Linked DNA regions of Homo sapiens: regions 1, 2 and 4 are each linked to region 3. Evidence: promoter capture Hi-C in 16 types of primary human blood cells and fetal thymus (Javierre and others, 2016). All regions are on one chromosome and are shown on one strand. The core of a region is centred on a gene start or on the middle of the fragment in contact, and the rest is flanking DNA. Distances in the headings are between cores, read along the strand shown.

Region 1 (3,744 bases), core at 196-2,695, 410 kb after region 3:
CAAGGTGGTCAGGCCACAGTTTGGTTTTTAGGGAGATATAAGACATCAACTGATACATGTGAGATGTACATTCGTTTGGTCTGGAAAAGCAGGACAAATGGAAGTTGGAGGACTTCCAGGTCATAGGCAGGTTCAGAAATTTTCTGACTGGTATTAATAATTGGTTGAGTTATTATCTAAAGACCTGGAATCATTAGAAGGGAATGTCTGGTTTACGATAAGGAGTTGTGGAGACCACAGTTTTATCATGCAGATGAAACCTCCAGGTAGCAGGCTTCAGAGAGAATAGATTGTAAATGTTTCTTATTAGACTTAAAGAGTCTATTGTATCAGTCTTAAGGACAGTGTTCATGTTGATGGTAATGAGGCATGTCCGACTCCCCCTTCCTCATCATGTCCTGAACTAGTTTTTCAGGTTAACTTTGGAATGCCCTTGGCCAAGAGGAGGGGTCCATTCAGGTGGTTGGGGAGCTTAGAATTTTATTTTTGGTTTACATTCTTTCCTTCTGGCCAGGATTTGCCAGAGGCAACATCAATGGACAAACTTTTATTTTGTCCCATAGCATTGTGGAGGTGGTTTGGCTGCCTGCCCCAGGTCCATCCTGTCCCTTGGTAGGATCTCTATGGCCAAGAGACTTACAGCCAAAAGACTTATAGACAGTTTAAATGTTCTAGGCCAGACAGGAATGGACGTGGACAGGCATTTATTACTCCTTAACAATTTTGAAGTAATGTAAAAGCCAACAAACAGAAAGTAAAAGGCGAGGTTACAAAATTGCCTTATCTATCTTTAACTTCTATGCATTGAGCTACTGTAGTCTTGGTTTTAGTTACAGATTTTTAGCAATTGGCTATATAAGCAAGCCTAAATTTTAAAAAGAAGAGAAAATGAAGCATACATTTAAAAGTTCTTAAACTTTTTTTTTGAAACAGGGTTTCACTTTGTCACTCAGGCTGGAGTGCAGTGATGTGATCATAGCTTTCTGCAGCCTTGACTTCCGGGCTCAAGTGATCCTCCCACCTCCGCCTCCTTAGTAGCTAGGACCACAGGCATGCACCAGCACACCCAGCAAATTAAAAAAAAATTTTTTTTAAAGATGAGATCTCACTATGTTGCCCAGGCTGGTCTGAAATTCCTGTCCTCAAGCAATCCTCCTGCCTTAGCCTCCCAAAGTGCTGAGATTACAGGCATGAGCTACCATGCCTGGCCTAAAACATTTTTAATGGAAGTATAATTTGCAAACAGAAAACATGCCCAAATATTAAGTGAATGCACTGATGAACATTCACAACTTAACAAGATAGCCAGCACTTAAATCACAAAATAGAACACCGCTAGGACCTCTTTGTAATACCCTCCAAGTCACTACTTCTGCCCAAAGGTAATCGCTATTTTGCAACATTTTTTATTACTTTATATAAATGAGATCGTACACTGCGTAATCTTATTACTGTCTGGATTTTTATATTAAATATTGCTTGTGAGATTCATCCATGTTGTCATGTCAGCAATACTTTATTCTCATTGCCATATACTATTCCATTTTTATCAGTATACCATGATATATTTACCCATTCTGCTATTTGTACATACTGGAATTGTTCCCAGGTTTTTGTAATACAAGCAAAGCTGCTATGAACATGCTTGGATTTACTTTCTTTGGTGAATATGTATTACTGTTATGTACATGTCTAGAGGTAAAATTGATGATTTATGGGATATGCATATGTTTAATTTTAGCAGATATTGAAAAACAGATTTTTAAAGCGGCTGTAGCAATTTACATTACCACCAGCAATGTGTGAGTTCCATTTGCTCTCCGTCCTTGACAGCACATGTTGTCACTTAGGTGGGTATGCAGGGGGATCCTTTTTTGGCATGTTTACTTATTTTTTTACACAGTGCAAACTGGTGTGGTGTACCGTTTTATGGCTTTTGCCTAATGCCATCACTAAAGTTACCAAACAATTCCATCACCTCAGAAATTGCTTTGTACCGCCTCTTGGCATTCATCCCCTTCTCCATTCTCAACCCTGGCAGCCACTGATCTAATTTCCATTCCCATAGTTTTCCAGATTATCAAAGAAACAGAATGATATGGTTGTAACCTTTTGGATGTAGCTTCTTTCAGGTAGCAAAATGCTTTTGAGATTTAACTATGTTGTTGTGTTTTCAGTAGTTCATTCCTTTGTGTGTGTGTGTGATAGTCTGACTCTCTTGCCCAGGCTGGAGTGCAGTGGTGTGATCTCAGCCCACTGCAACCCCTGCCTCCCACATTCAAGGGATTCTCATGCCTCAACCTCCCAAGTAGCTGGAACTACAGGCGTGCACCATTGCGCCTGGCTAATTTTTATATTTTTAGTAGAGACAAGGTTTCGCCATGTTGACCAGGCTGGTCTCGAACTCCTGGCCTCAAGTGATGCACCTGCCTCTGCCTCCCAAAGTGCTGGGATGACAGGCGTGAGCCACTGCACCCAGTCCAGAAGTTCATTGCTTTTTATTGCTGGGTCATATTCCATTGTATAGATGTATCACATTTTGTTTATGAGTCCTATAGTTGAGGGATACTTGGTTTGTTTCCATTTTTTCTCTATTATGGATACATTGTTATAAACATTTGTGTACAGGGTTTGTGTGAACATAGTTTTTATTTCTTTTGAGTAAATAGGAGTGGGATTGCTGGGTTACTTGGTAAATTGCTGGGTTATAGTTCTTTTTGAGAACTTGTCAAACTTTTGCTGAGTGGCTATACCATTTTGCATTCCCACTAGGAGGGCTTGAGAGTTCCAGTTGTTCCACATTCTTGCCAGCACCTGGTACTGCTAGTTTTTCTGTGTGTGTTTTTGTTTTGTTTTGCCACTCTAAGGTGTATAGTGGTATCTCTTTCTGGTTATAATTTGCATTTCTCTAATGATTATTAATGTTGAACATCTTTTAACATGCTTATTTGCCATCCATCTAACTTCTGTGGTAAATTTTCTGTTTATATTCTCGTCCATTCAAAATATTGGGTTGCTTGTTTTCTTATGGTTAATTTTAAAAGCTTTATTTGGAAATAATTATAGATTTAAAGGAAGTTGCAAAGAATTGTATTCCCTTCACTCACCCTTCCCCAATGTTAACATCTTGCCTAACTATGGTACAATATTAGTATCAGAAAATTGACATTGGTACAATCCACAGAGGTTATTCAGATTTTACCAGTTATACATATACTTGTGTGTGTGTGTTTCTATGCAATTTTATCACATGTATAGTTTTGTGTAGCTTCCACGACAATCAACATACAGAACTGTGCCATCACCGCAACATTCCTCTCATATTACCTCTCCACAGCCTCACCCACTTCCTACTCTACATCCCTTACCCTTATCAACCACTATTTGGTTTACCATCTGTATAATGTTGTTATTCCAAGGATGTTATATACATGGAAGCATACTATATAGTATGTTTCCTTTTCATATTTGCTTTTTTTCCCACTCAGCATAATTCCTGGAGGTTCCTTCAAGTTGTGACATGTATCAATAGTTCATTCCTTTTTATTGCTGGATAGTATTTCATAGTATGGATGTACTATAATTTAAGCATTGTCAATTTTGGTAGTTTCCACTTTGAGCTATTCCAAATAAAGTTTCTGTGAATATTCATATACAAGTTTCTACATTAACATAAGTTTTCATTTCTCTGGGGTGAATGCCCAAGAGTGCCATTGCTGGGTCATTTGGTAAATATATTTTTTT
Region 2 (4,147 bases), core at 961-3,460, 330 kb after region 3:
TAACATATTCTCTGAGAATCCCCCTCATTCCCCTCCCAGTCACTGTCTCCCAAGGTAACCACTATCCTAACTTTAGTGGATAGAGTAGTACTGCCTGTTTTGATCTTTATTTAAATGGAATTATTGAGCTGATATTCTTTGGGTCTGGCTATATTTGATCAAAAATAGATTAGTGACCTTCATCCATGTTGTAGAAGTAACAATGGTTTTTTCATGCTCATGGCTGTATAGTATTCCTTTGTATATATCCCAATGTATTTACCCATGCTAGGGTGATGAACACTGGGGCTGTTTCTAGCGTGCTACTGAGGGCATGCTTAGACACATCTTTTGCCAAATGAATGTATGCCTTTTCACTAGTACATACCTCAGAGGGGACATTCTGGAGCTTAGGGTGTACGGATGTTCTGCTTTAGATCATACTCTTGGGTCTCTTTTAAGTCTCCAGCAGACCTATTGCCCACAATGTCTGCCTTCATCCCATTGTCCTTTTTCATTCTATTGGCTTGTTTTAGCAGACTGGCCTGTGGTCCTGCAGCATGTCTCACCACCATTCATTTGTCTGTATGCTGCCTTCTTGTGTCATTTAACTTGTTGCTCTTTCCCAGTGTTTCTGATCATAGGAAGTTAGCCTCTGTGACAAGGTTAGAGGCAGGTCTCACTCTTCTGATAAAAGGACTTCATCAGTGGTGCCATGTCTCCTACAGCATCCCAGCATGAAGCACATGAGTTCTGGTTTTTTCACTCTTTACCATATCAGCACTGATCGTGGGTTCAGGTGATGACAGTCTCGTTCCTCCTTTGACTGATTCCTCACTGACCTTTAACCAAAGTGTTTCATTCAACCTACATCAGTTCAGTCACTGGGGTTCTAGATATTGTTTCTTTTGTTAAACATAGCCTTCACTAGGCTTGGCTTAAATTTTTCAGTGAGGAACAGCTCTCCCTCTTCAACTGTGCCTGTAGAGTAATCTTAAAATACACAGGAAGGGCAGAATAAAAGTTTAATTCTTTCCATTGCTAGTCATGCTTCCTTAGTCTTGTCTTAGTTGTAAAAATTCCTGAGACTGTCCCTGTTTTTGATGATCTTAACACTTTTGAGGAATATTGGTCAGCTCTTTAGCACAAAATCCATCCAGTGGTATTTGTCTTATCTTTTTCTCCTGATTAGAATGGGGATATGACAGCAGATCCTCCCCCACCATGAGTGATCACTCCTGCTTGTGGGGCATAGAGAAGGCACCTAGACCTGCACTCACCAGCACCCCACCCCTGAGTCACCACCACCTCCAGTGTGACCACACACACAGTCTCCAGCAGGGGGCCCCCATCCCCCATCCAGCTGCATTGCCTCCGCCACTGTGGTGAACACACGCAGGGAGGTAGGCACCCTGGCACCCACAAACACTCTACCACAGCTGTTGTACCTCTGCCTGCACAGTGCAGTGGATTCCAAACCTCGAGGAGCCAGAGAACAAAGATGGGACCCAATACAAGTCCCCCAGAATTAGAACATACAGTCCAGGTGTTGAGTGCTGAGTGTTGGCCCCCAGAAACAAAGCCAGCCAGCTGACTTTTTTTTTTGAGATGGAGTCTCACTTTGTCACCCAGGCTGGAGTCTCACTTCACCTTACACCACAGTCGAACATTCAAGGTCATCAAATGGGATAAAAGAAAAAATCCATCCAAAGGTCAGAAACCTCAAAGACTGAAGGTACATAAGCCCACAAAGATAATAAGGATAATAAGAATCAGTGCAAGAACCCTGATTCTTGATGAAGAGTGATGCAAAAATCCTCAACAAAATACTGGCAAACTAAATCCAGCAGCACATCAAAAAGCTTATCCACCACGATCAAGTAGGTTTCATCCCTGGATACAAGTTGGTTCAATATATACAAATCAATAAATGTAATTCATCACATAAACAGAACTAAAGACAAAATCACACGACTATTTCATAGATTCAGAAAAGGCTTTCAATATAATTCTACACCCCTTCATGTTAAAAACTCTCAATAAAATAGGTATTGAAGGAACATACCTCAAAATAATAAGACTCATCTATGACAACTCACAGCCAACATCATACTAAATGGGCAAAAGCTTGAAGCATTTCCCTTGAAAACCGGCGCAAGAGAAGGATGCACTCTCTCAGCACTCCCATTCAACATAGGACTGGAAGTCCTGGACATGACAATCAGTCAAGAGAAAGAAATAAAGGGCATCAAAATAGGAAGAGAGGCAGTCAGTTAAACTATCCCTGTTTGCAGATGACATGACCTATATCTAGAAAACCCCATAGTCTAAGCCCAAAAGCTTCTTAAGCTGATAACTTCAAAAAAGTCTCAGGATACAAAATCAATGTACAAAAATCAGTAACATTCCTACACACCAACAACAGTCAAGCCAAGAGCCAAATCAGGAATGAACTCTCATTCACAATTGCCACAAAAAGAATAAAATACCTAGGAATACAGTTAGCCAGGCAGGTGAAAGATCTCTACAATGAGAACTACAAAACATTGCTCAAAAAAATCAAAGATGACACAAACAAATGGAAAAACATCCTATGCTCATGGATAGGAAGAATCAATGTCATAAAAATGGACATACTTCTCAAATCAATTTGTAGATTCAATGCTATTCCTATTGAACTACCATTGAGATTCTTCACACAACTAGAAAAAAAACTATTTTAAAATTTATGTAAAACCAAAAAAGAGCCCAAATAGCCAAGGCAATCCTAAGCAAAAAGAACAAAGCTGGTGGCTTCACACTACCCAACTTCAAACTATACTACAGGTCTATAATAATCAAAATAGTATGGTACTGGTATAAAAACAGACACATAGATGAATGGAACAGAATTGAGAACCCAGAAATAAGGCCACACACCTACAACTATCTGATCTTCAACAAACCTGACAAAAACAAGATATGGGGAAAAGATTCCCTATTCAACAAATGGTGCTGGGATAATTGGCTAGCCATATGCAGAAGATTAAAACTGGACTCTGGCCAGGCGCGGTGGCTCGTGCCTGTAATCCTGGCACTTTGGGAGGCCAAGGCGGGCGGATCACGAGGTCAGGAGATTGAGACCATCCTGGCTAACATGGTGAAACCCCGTCTCTACCAAAAATACAAAAACTTAGCCGGACGTGGTGGCAGGTGCCTGTAGTCCCAGCTACTCAGGAGGCTGAGGCAGGAGAATGGCGTGAACCTGGGAGGCGGAGCTTGCAGTGAGCCGAGATTGTGCCACTGCACTCCAGCCTGGGTGACAAAGTGAGACTCCGTCTCAAAAAAAAAAAAAAACAAACAAAAAAAAAAACCTAGACCCTTTCCTTATACCATATACAAAAATTAACTCAAGATTGATCAAAGACTTAAATGTAAAACTTATGAAAACCCTGGAAAATAACCTAAACAATACCATTGAGGACATAGCAATGGGCAAAGATTTCATGACAAACATGCTGAAAGCAATTGCAACAAAAGCAAAAATTGACAAATGGGATCTAATTAAGCTAAAACGCTTCTGCACAGCAAAGGAAACTATCAACAAAGTGAACAGAAAGCCTGCAAAATGAGAGGAAATTTTTGCAAACTATGCATCTTACAAAGATCTAATATCCAGCGTCTATAAGGAACTTAAACAAATTTACAAGAAGAAAATAAACAACCCCGTTAAAAAGTGGGCAAAGGACATGAACAGATACTTTTCAGAAGAAGACAGAAAACATATATGCGGCCAACAAGCATATGAAAAAAAAGCTCAACATCACTGATCATTAGAGAAATGCAAATCAAAACCACAATGAGATACCATCTCACAGCAGTCAGAATGGCTATTACTAAAAAATCAAAAAATAACAGATGCTGAGGAGGTTACAAAGAAAAAGGAATGCTTATAAACTGTTGATGGGAGTGTAAATTAGTTCAACCATTGTGGAAGATAGTATGGCAGTTCCTCAAAGACCTAAAAACAGAAATACATTTTGACCCAGCAATCAAATTATTGGTATATACCCAAAGGAATATAACTCATTCTATTATAAAGACACAAGGACATGTATGTTCATTGCAGCATCATGGACAATAGCAAAGACATGAAATCAACCTAAATGCCCATCAATGATGGACTGAA
Region 3 (3,657 bases), core at 1,158-3,657:
GGGTCTAGGGAGGTGAAGGCCGACCTGACCTGCTAAGAGACGAGAAGAGAGGGAGGGGAAAGTCTTGTTCCTGCCAGGACATTGTTAATGAGAGGAGTGAGAAGGCAGCAGGTGAAGAGAGTGTAGCATGGAAGGCAGAAATCAGAGCGTTTTTGGGTTTCGTGCTGACCTGCTATTGGGAATGAAAATCAAGACTCAGGTGCATTCTGGTCCCTTTCTCAGGGTTAGCCGAACACCACCCGCATCCCTGCCTGGCCTGTTGATGCCATTCTTCCTAGGCCCACTCACCGCTGCAGCTGCTTTACTTGCACTTCCTCTCCTCATCCGACCACAGATCAGACCTCTGCTTCTCGCTGCCGCCCAGGGAGAGTGTGCACCTACGTGCACATTGCACCCCACTGCCCAGCACACCCAGGAGTGAGAGTGAGGAGCAGCTGAGAGAGTTGGAAAAGGGAGCCCTTATGTGGCCACCAAGGGCTTCCCTGCTAGCAGCCACACGGTGGCTATCCAGCTCATTATGCGAGTTCTAGTTCTTCAAACAAGAGGCCACGGGAGGAGCAACGGCCACCCACCATCCCGGGGATCCTCATTCATGATTTGAAACCACTCTAAGCAGGTTCTGGGGTGTTCGGCAGAAGCTGGCAACCATTCTTGTGGGGAAGGAACCCAGGAGGGGATGCTAGCATGCATAGGAATTGGAACTGGTGATCTGAAGGTCCCCTGCAGCCCTACGGCCTACATCCCATAAAGAGGGACCCTCTCCTCCTCACCTCATCTCCAGCATTCCTGCTTCCTCGAGCTTCTCCAGGGAGAAGTAGGCGCATCTCACTAGAAAAAACAAGAAAGCAGCCCTTTGCTCATTCAACACTTACTAAGCAGATACTGTGCCCTGGGCACCCAGTTTCAGAAATGAGTAAAACACCGGCCTTGCCTTCAAGGAACTCAAGAGACCCTGCGGCAGCCACAAGTCTTACAGAGCAATTACCACCCTGGGTTGCAAGAGCCTAACGTGGGGTGGGGACGGGGGAGGTACAAAATGCTATCAGAGCTGGAGACGAAAGTCTCTAATACTCGGAGTGGGGCTGTGAAGGTGACTTTAAAGTTGTGCCTTGAAGGAGGCCAGGAGCGCACCAGGACAAGGCCATGGGAACCGCCGGTGCAAAGCAGGGAGACCTGGAACAGCAGGCTGGTGGGGACCAGTGACTGAACAGCACAGCGTGAACCCAAAGAGTGTTTGGCTTAAGGGTGGGGAGAGCTGAGCCGACTCCCTGAACTGCTAGGACTTAAACCTGAGAAGGCCCAGCAGCGTTTTCACTAGAGGATTGCTGGGGACAGATTTGTGACTTAGAAACTGAGCCGATGGAATGTGGACGACAGACCTGAGGGAAGAAAGACAGAGGACTCCAGGTTGCTCAGGAGGCTCATGGAACAGTGCAGGCTCCAGACCACGAGGCCTGAATTCTGGAAGTAGCAGCGGGGATGCAGGACGAGGAGCCGTTTTGTCTCATCAGGCACTCCAGAGGCAGGGACCCAGAACTTGGTTATGAAGTCAATGCGGGAGACTAGATAAGGGGAGGGACAGAGGAGTAAAGCATGGCAGCACTACAGAACCTGAGCCCGTGACTGAGAGAAGAGAGTTTGAAAAGCAAGTTTGCCAGGGAAGTTGGGCTGTGTGCTGGGCGACTTAGGTCGGAGGAGGCAAGACATTAAGAGTGGGGATGTTTCTCATCACCTGCAAAAGAGACGTTAAAGAGACGGTTCCTCCGGACCCCACTGGCAGGCACTGACAGAGCGGCTAGGACACAGGAGAGCAGGCCTGGGGGGCTCAGCCCTGCAAGACTCAGCCTAGAGCTGCATAGACCCCAGTCAAGTGTTCCCGCCCTTCTTGCTGCTTCCGTGCCCTATGGGGGTAGACACTGGAGGTGCAGTTAGGTCGCTGCGGGCAAGTTTTGACTCTTGCCTAAGGGTGCATCACAGAAGGGCCTCAGCTCCCTCCCCCAGCTCCACCCACAGCTCCACCCCCAGTTCGGCTCTGCTTCATTTCACCAGCATCTCCACCCCCAGCTCCTCCTCCGGCAGCTCCGCCCCAGCTGTTCCGCCCCCAGCTCTTCCTCCTCCCAGCACTTAACCAGTTCCACCCACAGCTCTTTCCCACAACTACGCCCTCCTCTTGCAGGCGGCTCCTCCAGAAGCTCTAACCCAGTTCCTGCTGCAGCCCCACCCTGCTCACCCTGCATCTCCAGTCCCAGCTCCGCCTCCTCTAGCCCCGTCCCGCTTCTCCTACCCCTCTGCCCACCCCAGCACCTTTCAGCTCTTTCCTCCAGCTCTGCACTAGCTCCTCCCCCACCATTCTCACCCGCCAGCCTTACTCCAGCTTGGCTCCCCCTTCTCCAGCAATTTCCCGCAGCCCCGCCCCATCTGCTCCCACACCTCTTTGCCACAGCCCCGCCCTGCTCCTCCTCCAGGAACGCCCGGCTTTCCCTCAGCTCCACGCTGCAGCTGAGCTGTGCACCAGGCCCTCCCACAGAGCTTTCTCGTGATTCCACCCTACACCTCCCCAAGCCCCCGCTCCCCTAAGCTGGTTCTCAGGAGTCCGAGGGGTCCTCCCGCAGCTGCTCCTCGCTCAGTTCTCCCATTGCCCCGCCCTGCTCTTCGCGGGGCTGCTTCCAAAGCCCCGACCTCAGCCAGCAGTTTCTCTCAGCCCCGCCCCTCCCTGCCCCGCCCCTCCCCTCCCTGCCCCGCCCCGCTTCTCCCGCGGCTGCTCCCAAAGCCCCGCCCTCGGCCCCCTCCCCAGCAGTTTCTCTCAGCCCCGCCCCACCCCGAGCCCCGCCCGCAGCCCCGACCTGCTTCTCCTGTGGCTGCCTCCAAAGCCCCGCCCCCAAACCTTCCCCAGCATTCTCAGCCCCCCCAGAGCCCCGCCTCTCCCAGCCCCGCCCTACTTCTCACGCAGCTGCTTTAAAAACCCCGCCCCCAGCCCCTCCCAGTGATTTCTTTCTCCCCCTCCCTCCTTCTCTCAGCGGACACCTGCCTCCCCCTGCTGATTCTCAAGAGTCCGCGAGCTCTTCCTGCAGCTTCTCCTCGCTCAGCTCTCCCACGGCCCTGCCCACAATGGTTTCTCTCAGCCCCGCCCGGCCCTGCCCCACACCCCGCCTCTTATCTCAGCCCCGCCCTCAACCCAGCCCCCAATTGTTTCTGTCAGTCCCGCTCGGCCCCTCCCCCAGCTCCGCCCTCCTCCTCTCAGCCCCGCCTCCACCCCCTCCCCAGCGGTTTCTCCCAGCTCCTCCCTGCTGGTATAGCAGCTCTGGGCCCAAAACTCCTGCCTGGTGTCCTCGTCCCACCCTTCCACTTACTCTTCCTCCCTCCCGTTCCTTTTCCTCCTTCCGGTTCTTCGTCGAGGCTGCCGGTCTCGAGGTCCCCTGGCCTTGGCCTGGTTGGCTGGCGCGCATCAGGGCCAGGTAAAGAGAATAGCGTCTCCTAGCAGCCAGGGCGTGCGTACGTGCGTGATGTCGTCAGTGCGTGTCTTCGAGAATGCGAGATTCATAATGTTTGCTGTCTATATGCATGGCTGAGTACGTGCCTCCCGCGTACGTGCGTGGTGTGCATACATGCGTGATTGCGCGCCCACGTACGTTCTTCGTGAAAGGGATGACGGGAGCT
Region 4 (3,820 bases), core at 3-2,502, 360 kb after region 3:
CCTGGGTCATAAGTGAAAATTCTTAGTTTCATAGAATTTAAAGCCAAGAGCACAGAATATCATACTGGAAGAAAACATTTCCTTTAGACCTTTAAAATGAAACACTTTCAGCATCAGTCCACAACAGCAGTTAAAACCTGAGGAAAAAGGTTACAGGAGCTGACGAAAAAGTTAAAGGAGACAGTTATTATCTCAGCCCTTTTCAAAGGGGAGAGAAAGCTGAAAACAGTGAGATGCAATAACAGTTGAGCTTTTGAGTTAAAAAATTAAAATCCCTTGTAATTTTATTAATAATAAATCAATACCTTAAAAATGTTGTTGTTCTAACCAATTCCTTAGTGTTTTAGTGTTTTTTCCTTATCAATACCCAATCTCTAGAAAGACAATTATAAATAATTTCTTTTTAGTTATAGCCAACTTGATCACATAAAGTTTCTGTCTTATGAATGCTCTTTTTACAAACTTTATTATGGCTTAGAGAAACCATTTACAACATTCTTGGACCTCCTGTTGTATCCTAAACAACCTTTTTCTTAAATAACCAGTCATTTTATTTTAGGGCAAAAAATTTACCATGCAAGATTCATTTTATATAAAATTAGTCTCCTTTTAGCCTTTCTTACCAAAATATCTTATTATATCTATAACTTTCTTTACATCTCTCTTATTTACTGGTTCCTTTTACCTTGTTTCAAAAATAACCATTAAATAACATTTAAATTTAGACTAAACTTATTTCCCTTTAAATAAGAACACATTTTTTATGAAAAATGTTTCCCCATAATTTTTTTAAAGAAATTGGAAATGATCCATTTAATGAATATCTATTATTTAACTCAATACAACTTTAGATTCTAAACTATGTGAGGTTTATTTGCAAGCATTTATTTCATTACATTTTCCTAATCAATTAATTAATTGTATTTTTCAATCGTTTAACTAGATTGTTTATGAAAATTGTGATAGTCATCATTTAAAGTTATATCCCTATTAACCATTTTATAGCACGTGCATTTCAGGTATTTACCTCAGTAAGAATCTTAAGGTTAAAAAAATGGTATATTTTGCCAATATTCAAGATTTAGCTGTTCCCATTAAACTCAACAATATTCAGTGCCTTATTTATAAAAAACTATACAAAAATAATTCTCTTGTGGGCTGCAAGCTTTACAATTCTCCTGCGAAATTTTGACAACTTATAACACCTAACAGATATTAAATATTAAACTACTAGACCAATGAATCCAACAATAATGTATGTTGACCATTCTGAAGAAATTTCTAATTTTATTTTACCAATAATTTTAAAACCAACTTATTTATTAAGGATTTACTTAAGTAAGCTTATAAAAGCATTTGGGCTCCTATTTTTCTGATAAAGTATTTGATTTAAGTGATTTTTTTGTCTGTAAGCCAATTACATATATAAAATTAAATTATATAGATTATAAATCAATATATAAATATATAATTAAATATATAAAAATTAAATCTAAAGAGCTCTAATGAGCGCTTCTGAAATTAGAAAAAAATCTAATTTCACAGACCCTGAAATTATTTAAGGCCCCTCATGCAGCAGACGGTGGCAAGAAGAAAGAGACTGGCAGAAGTAAATGGAGAAAACAGAATTCCGTTGACTGAGAATGGTAAAAAACGCTTTTTCTCAAAAAATAATATTCTAGAAGAGAAAGAAAGCATAAAGGCCTTTTCAATATATACATACACACACACACACACACACACACACACACATATATAATATATATGTAGGTGTATGTGTATACATATATATTTACCTTTTTAAATTTTTGTTTCTGTTTTTCTCAGAGATCCCTGTTCTGAACATACACATACACACACACACACACACACACACACAGAGGCACACACACACACAGAGGCACACACACATATACATCTTGGATCTTAGCTTTTAATTAAGCTGACATAATAATTGTGCTCTTAAAAAAATTCGTTAAATCTCATTACCATATTTTGGCTGGGATAAACTGCTGATAGTTCAAATGTAACAAAAATATCAAACCAGAAAGGACTTGATTTAGGAACCAAACCGAGGCTGTCATGTGAAAAAAGAGCAGAATCTTAGCTACTGAACTACAGCCATTGCTCTTTCAATTTGGCTTGGCTACTAAAAGGTGGCCTTGTTATGTAAATAATGCACCTAAGGTAATCAAATTCTTTCTTTTTTTTCAGCTGCATGATTTTAGCCAATTCAGAGACTTTGTTCCCCATAATTTGGAACTTTCCTTTGGATTTGACCAAGTCCAGTAGAGTTGGCCAAATCCATTGGGAAAAAGACTAAAACAGCAAAAACAACAGTAAAAAAAACAAACTGAAAAACAGAAAGGCAGTTAAGCAAAACAAAAGATAGCACAGGATTACCGAGTACTCTATTGGTAAGTAGAAATTAAGACCAGCTACTTGCTAATCTTAACTTTTAGCCATTACGGAAAATTTCCAAGACAAAACCCCAATTCAGCTACTTACCTGGGAATGGGGCCCAGGCTGAAGACTTGTTTGTACATTTCTCAGCCCTGCTCTGTATGTAAAGCCAACATGTTATGTTCAGCTCATTGGAGCACCTATTCTATTTAAATAGAATGAGAAGTTGTTCACTATAGAATTGCAAATGAAAGCTAATTAGATTTTTGAACCAAATTTGGTGTAATTTTGTCTTTTGACACATTTTCTCATTTCTGAAACTTTAGGACTCTTTATATATTCTGCATAAAAGACTTTTGTTTGGCATACAATTTGCATATATTTGTGTAACTCCACATTTGACTTTTTATTCTCTGATCCATGTATTTCCCAAAGTAAAAGTTTTAATTTTGAGGAATCCAATTTATCACTTTTTCCTTTATGAATCACGCTTTTGGTGTCATGATTAAGACCTCTTTGCCTGATTTCAGGTCATCAGTATTTCCTCCTATATTTTCTTTAAAAGCGTTATAGTTTTTTGTATAACATTTGAATCTATGATCCACTGTGAGTTAATTTTTGTCTAAAGTGTGAAATTTTGGTGAAGTTTTTTTGTTAATAACATATGGATATTCAATTGTTCCAATATCACTGATTGAAAAGCCTAACATTTTTATAATGAATTGTCTTTACTCCTTTCTAAAAATCTCCATTGGCCATATTTGTGTGGGTCTATTCAAGGACTCTCCATTCTATTCCATTAATCTATATGTGTATCCATTAGCCAATTCCATACTGTTTTGATTACTGTAGGTTTATATTACATCTTAAAATTGAGCAGTATGATTCCACCATGATTTTCTGGTTTTTGTTTCAAAATTGTTTTAACTATTCCAGATCCTTTGCCTTTCCATACACTTTTTGAGTCAGCTTGTCTACATGTACAAAAATTCCTGCTAGTAGTTTGACAGCATTGACTTTGAATCTACAGATAGCTTTGGTATAGGTCACACATCTCCACTGAGTCTTGCAGTCCATGAAGATAATATGTTCATATATTTACTTGGACCTCTTTGAATTGTCTTCATTAGCATTTTGTCATTTCTCCACACAGATAGGGACTTATTTTATTGGTTATATAGCAAAGCATTTTATTTTTTAATCTATTAAAACTGATATTTTAAAATATGTTTTCCAATGTTTATTGTCCATTCTTTTTTCCAGTTCAGCCTATAAGAAACTTGAAGTGTCTCTTCCATTGACACAAACAAGTAAAAAGCTGAATAAATTGAAAAAAAAAAAAAAACTTTTCTCAGATTTGCTTAGAGAACTGAGACCACAGGGCAAACTACCAGACCAAAGCTAAAGAAACAGGCAA

What was found. The method cuts DNA at HindIII sites, captures the fragments that hold promoters and counts their contacts. A CHiCAGO score of 5 or more calls a contact.
Region 1: a contact is called between a fragment that was not itself captured here and the fragment with the promoter of EOLA1-DT in region 3, in 2 of 17 cell types (neutrophils and activated CD4 T cells). The highest score is 5.2, in neutrophils.
Region 2: a contact is called between a fragment that was not itself captured here and the fragment with the promoter of EOLA1-DT in region 3, in 1 of 17 cell types (total CD4 T cells). The highest score is 5.9, in total CD4 T cells.
Region 4: a fragment that was not itself captured here is called in contact with the fragment with the promoter of EOLA1-DT in region 3 in 1 of 17 cell types (total CD4 T cells); the score reaches 10.5 in total CD4 T cells.

Annotation. Positions count from the first base shown.
Region 1 is chrX:149,951,417-149,955,160 of GRCh38, forward strand. All of the region lies in intron 7 of EOLA2-DT (EOLA2 divergent transcript), which reads left to right. Among named protein-coding and RNA genes, the nearest start is that of EOLA2-DT, 15 kb to the left of the region's middle. The HindIII fragment of the contact is 3,193 bases long and covers 1-3,042 here.
Region 2 is chrX:149,870,815-149,874,961 of GRCh38, forward strand. All of the region lies in intron 2 of LINC00850 (long intergenic non-protein coding RNA 850), which reads left to right. Among named protein-coding and RNA genes, the nearest start is that of MAGEA8, 8.3 kb to the right of the region's middle. The HindIII fragment of the contact is 213 bases long and covers 2,105-2,317 here.
Region 3 is chrX:149,537,345-149,541,001 of GRCh38, forward strand. EOLA1-DT (EOLA1 divergent transcript) reads right to left here and starts at 2,408. Exons shown (of 10, transcript NR_027455.5): 1 at 2,357-2,408; 2 at 1,380-1,562; 3 at 771-828; 4 at 289-434. It also overlaps a transcript of EOLA1 not described here. RefSeq lists silencers at 1,819-1,898, 2,649-2,958, 2,969-3,038, 3,071-3,261. The HindIII fragment of the contact is 11,440 bases long and covers 1-3,657 here.
Region 4 is chrX:149,894,419-149,898,238 of GRCh38, forward strand. It overlaps MAGEA8-AS1 (MAGEA8 antisense RNA 1), which reads right to left and starts at 2,588. Exons shown (of 5, transcript NR_102703.1): 1 at 2,509-2,588. The HindIII fragment of the contact is 178 bases long and covers 1,164-1,341 here.